Regions from separate parts of the Homo sapiens genome. Here region 1 is linked to region 2. The links are contacts of gene promoters, found by promoter capture Hi-C in human tissues and cell types (Jung and others, 2019). All regions are on one chromosome and are shown on one strand. Each heading gives the region's core, a stretch centred on a gene start or on the middle of the fragment in contact. The rest is flanking DNA. Distances are from core to core; before and after follow the strand shown.

What was found. Contacts are between HindIII fragments. The study calls those that stand out against the background at their distance.
Region 1: a fragment that was not itself captured here is called in contact with the fragment with the promoter of DNASE2B in region 2 in 2 of the 25 tissues and cell types used here (hippocampus and lymphoblastoid cells).

The regions. Positions count from the first base shown.
Region 1 is chr1:84,094,994-84,097,701 of GRCh38, forward strand. It overlaps a transcript of PRKACB not described here. Among named protein-coding and RNA genes, the nearest start is that of PRKACB, 48 kb to the right of the region's middle. The HindIII fragment of the contact is 5,327 bases long and covers 1-2,708 here.
Region 2 is chr1:84,397,045-84,399,744 of GRCh38, forward strand. It overlaps DNASE2B (deoxyribonuclease 2 beta), which reads left to right and starts at 1,440. Exons shown (of 6, transcript NM_021233.3): 1 at 1,440-1,645. The coding sequence starts at 1,521. The HindIII fragment of the contact is 7,255 bases long and covers 1-2,700 here.

The sequences.
Region 1 (2,708 bases), core at 119-2,618, 300 kb before region 2:
TAGTAACATGCAGTATAGGATTGTAGCCTAGGAGCAATAGGCTATCCATATAGCTTAGATATGTAGTAAGCTATACGATCTAGGTTTATGTAAGTGCACTCTATGATGTTCGTACAGTGACGAGATTGCCTAATGACACATTTCTCAGAATGTATCCCTGGCATTAAGTGACACATGACTGTATTTAACACTCCATCATGCATTATTATTATTGTTCAGGGCCCTCAATATTTATATTTATCCCATATTTGCTGTTTTTTTTTTTTTTGCGCTTATTCCTTCATGCATTCTCTGGTCTAAGTTACTTGTGCCATAAATAAGTCTTGTGTAAAGGTGTCCTAGTGATGAATTATGTCAGTTTTTATTTATCTGGATTTGTGTATTTTTTACCTTCACTTTTTCAGGATATATTTTATAAGTATGGAATTTTAGGTTGAGAATTACTTTCTTTGAACACTTTGAAGATGTTTCATCATGTTTTGTTTTCCATTGTTTTGTTGAGAAATCAGCTGTTAGTCTCAGTGTTGCTTTATGAAGGTAGTATATCTTTTTTTTTCTTTGGTTGCTTTGAGATTTTCTCTTTGCCTTTGGTTTTCAGCAGTTTCACAATATGCCTAGGTGATTTTATTCCCCCTACTTTCTGTTTGCAACTTTTTAGAATCATGGCTCAAAATGTTTCATTTATTTAAGACAGTTTTCAATAAGCATATCTTAATATGTTGCCTCTATCCCGTCTTTTCTTTCCTATTCTTCTGAGATACCAATTACATGTATATGTAAAATTTCTGATATATAATTTCAATTATTATATTTTTAATCTCTAGATTTTCCAGTTGATTTTTGAGTTTCTACTTGTAAATTTTTCTACTCATTTATATTTTTGTACAAATTAATCATAGCTATATTAAAGTTCATGTCTGAATTTACAATTTTTATTACCAGTGTGTTTTTCTATGGTATGTTTGTTCTCTTATTTTTGGTTATTTGGTCTTATCTTTTGGCATGCCTAGGAATCTTTAATTGAATGTATTTTGTATCATGTTATATTTCTTAAGAGAGGACTTATTTTGGCTGATGGTTAGAGTTGGGTCAGATTGTGTTGATCCATCAACAATTAAGATGACTTGTTGGCTGTTCTCAGTCTTTGTGAGGCTTGGTCTATTTCCTATTCTTACTCCTATCGATGGAGCCTTTCAGTGGTTTTGACTGAAGGCCTGGTGGTGTTTATCAGGGCCCTACCTCATGCTAGCCCTGAACTTCAATTTTTCTTTCCTCACTGTGAGATTACTGAAATATTTGCTTAGTTTTCTAATCTCCTAAAAAGGTGCTTCTCACTATCTGTTCTTTAGTGTCATGCCTTAGGTATCTTAAACATCTGAATGCTTCAAGAAGAAAAAGTAGTACAGAATGTTGGGATTTTTATTTCTGGTTTCTTGGCCCTAAAGTCTCTGAATTCCATTTTTTTCCCTTGTCAGCCAAGTGTAATGTTGAATATTTGAGCCTTAGCTTTTTGCATGTCCTTTCTACCAATTGAGGAAATGCCCTGAGGGCAAAAGCTGTAAAGAATCTTGATCTCTAATCATTTCCCATCTTTTCAGGACCTTGGTGTTCCTCAAAACCTGCTGACTCCTTTGCTAATACTTTCAAACAACTCTTACCCCATTTCTACCAATATTTATGTTATTTTAACAAGAGTTTTTTTTATATATCACTTTATTGAAGCAGAAATCCCTTGATAGTATTTTTTCTTTTTGTAAATCTGTGCAATGAATCATAGTATAAAGTGTGCACATTTTTAAGCTTATAGATTGAAGAGGGTTTACAAATGAATTCCTCATATAATCGTGACTAGATCAATATATGCAAATTAACAGCATTCTAGAAGGTTCCCTTGTCCCTCCAGAGTCAATAAGCATGCTTCCCTCAGATGTAACCACTATTCTTATTTCTGTCACCATATATTAGTTTCGCCTGTTTTTGAGCTTTACTTAAGTAGAATAACAATTATACTGTTTTATATCTGGGATTTTAATTTCAACATTGTTTGCAAAATTTAGTCCTGTTGCTGAAGGTAGGGTTCTTTACTTTTTGTTAATGTATAGTGTTCCATGGTGTGAATACACAATTTATTTTTTCTTTCTACATTTGATGGTAATTGGGTTGTTTTCCAGTTTGGGACTATTATGACTAGAACTTCTGTGAACATTGTTGACCATTTTTGTGCATTTTCATACACACCTATACTCATTTCTGTTAGGTATATACCTATAAATGGAATACTGTCATAAAGTATATGTATCTGTAGATACATTAGTAGATAGTATCTACATTAGTAGATACTATCAAACTGTTTTCGAAAGAGGTTATACCAATTTGCACTCACAGTAGCAGTGTAGGAGAGTTTCCATTGCCCCACATCTTCACCATCCTTGGTATTGACAGGTATTGTTTTGTTTTAGCCATTTTGGTGTGTGTATTAATAAGGGTTCTCCAGAGAAACAGAACCAATAGGAGGGGTGTGTGTGGGGAGAAAGATTATTTCTATAATAAATCTCCTCTTACATACATATATACTTATTATGGAAATTGACTCATGATTATGGAGGCTGATAAGTCATATAATCAAGTTGGGGAACCAGGAAACCTGGTGCTGTAACTTAGTCTAAGTCCAAAGACCTGAGGAAAGGGGAGAGAAAATGGTTTAAGTC
Region 2 (2,700 bases), core at 190-2,689:
GAACACAGGAAGAAAATATATAAAACAAAATGAGAACAGGCACAGTGGTTCATGCCTGTAATCCCAGCACTTTGGGAGGCCGAGGTGGATGGATTCCCAGGCCGAGGTGGGTACACTCCAGCCTGGGCAACAAGAGCAAAACTTCATCTCAAAATAATAATAATAATAATACCAATGGAGGAATGGGTAAGAAAAATATTTCTTCATTTAACCTGCAGAAAGCTGTGAATCTACCAAATACAGCATAGTCTTGGCCTCAGGGCAGTGAGTTTCAAACTTTAGGGTACACCAGCATCACCAATAAGCTTATTAAAAATATAGATTCTTGAGCCCAACTGGAAGAATTCTGATGTAGCAGGTTTGGAATAAGTCCTAGAATTCTGCCTTTTTTGCAGGCACCACAGGTAATTGGGCAGGTGGTACAGAGTCCTCCTCCCAAAACTCTGTCTTAGGATAGAGACACAAGCCTTCCCCTTTTCTATGAATCCTGAGAATTGTGAACAGTTCTAGTGCAACCACAGAGGTAATCTGATTTACAAGGGTTCAGTTTGGTCTGGATCCTCTGATCTGGAACTATTATAGTTATCATTGTGATTATCAGAGAGACAGATTAGGGGCAGCATTATTTCCAGGCATGATGTAAACTGCTATTTATTATGATGGCAGCTTTAATAATTGATGCAAAAGTATGCATTAAAGAAATTATTTTCATATGTCTATCTACTCCTTCCCTGATTCACAAAGAAATTGGTCTCACCTTTTTATAGTTGTTATGGTAGTGGGCCATTTTATTTTGGTTTTCTACTTCAGATTCAGCTTCGAGAATGAGAAAGCATAGTTTGGGCAAAATAGATGTTTGTAACATTTTTTATTAACCTGAAGAGTGGGTGATCAATATGTTTACCTATTGCATAGCAGCCTGAAGCACCACATTGAGTGGCTAAAACCAGGAAGATGGAGAGAATATGTAAACATCTTTGGTAAAATACAGTTAAATTTACTGTTACTTTGAAGCAACCCTTTGAAGTATCCCTTAGCAACTGGTTCCTTAAGACAGAGATTATTAAGTGACAGATCCTAATTATTACTAAGACATAAGGTTTTATCATTTCTGTTTAATGTACGAACCACCTGCATTTGCTCTCATTCATTGAGTCAAACAGGAGAAGACATGAAATATATTTAACATCTACTTATTAAAATGAAGTCCCCCTGCCCAATGAATTTCATACAACAATGTTCACTCCAAAGAGTGAACTATCTTTCCCTATTTTTCTGCAGAACTTTTTGATGACTTTGCAAACCAGTCAACAATTCAGCACAAAGGCATCCAGAGTCACGCTGGCATGTTGTGACAGAATCGCACAATTACATGGGATCCATCCCACTCTGAAAATGCCCCGAACAGCGAACAGCACAGGTAAATCAAATCAAACGTCAGAGCCAGCACAGCCTGAGAGCGCCTTGAAACTCAGACTCCACAATCTATGGGGAAAGTGTCCTGCTGTGGCATGAAATAAATGAAACAGAAAATGATGGCAAGACTGCTAAGAACATCCTTTGCTTTGCTCTTCCTTGGCCTCTTTGGGGTGCTGGGGGCAGCAACAATTTCATGCAGAAATGAAGAAGGGAAAGCTGTGGACTGGTAGGTAAATGAAATGGAAGGACTGCTGCATGCAAACAGCCTCGGTACAGAGTTGGCCTGGCTCACTGCGAAGTTCCTAAGGGGAATGTCCATTCTCTTTCCTCCCTTTACAAATAAAGGAAGTTAAAGTGTGCAAATCGGCCAAACTCCCAGGCAGGGGTAGGCTTCTGAGTGACGGAGTTTCCCCCTGAAAAAGAGCTGAGCAGCCCCTCTTGGGCCTGATTCACTGTTCTCAGCGGGGCAAGGCTGGTAGCCACAGAAGTGGGATTGAGCTGACAGCTTCTGTGAGCTGGCAATTTCTTTTAATTACATCATGGCTTTTCCTAACAGAACACTTCCAACATCCTTTGAAAGACTGACAGAGTAAAGAAGGCAGATTATTTTTTTCTGAAAATGGAGCATGTGCTGCTCCTTATGAGAAAGAGAAGGGGGACCTGGTCACACACAGCACTGTTTGCCTAACATCGGTTTGTTTGGAAGCAGAGGCAGCTGTTGCCATGATTGGTACGTAGGCCACTGGCCTGTTGTACAGTGTCAAAGACATTAAATGCTGTGTTGCATTATAGTCATGGGTTCTCCTAAAGCTTTAACTACTTTTTCACCCTTTAATTGGGATATTTAGGTTTGCCATAATGGTTGGTGTCAAGCTTTTTGTGTAAACTTCAGGCTACAGAACACAGATATACTCAAGGCAGTAGTCAGTCTTTCCTCAGTTACTGAGCTCAACAGAGGTCTGTGTGGAGTTTTGAAAATATAAATATGAACGAAACATGGTTCCTACCCTCAAGGACCTCACAGTTATGTGGTAAGGGCATAGGTGGAACACTGGGGAACAGAGAGCCCAGAAAACTTCTCTAAGGATGTAATTTTTGAGCTAAGTTTTAAGAACAATTAAGAAGTAGCTGGAAAAAGAAGGGATGTGCAAGAGCATCTCAGGCCAATGAAGGAGCAATGAGGAGGTAGAGAGGCAAGAAGCAACATGGAAATTTGGGAGTTGCAAAGTAGTTTGGTATTGCTGGAACTTCAGGAGAATACAGGAAGATGACCGGAGGTGA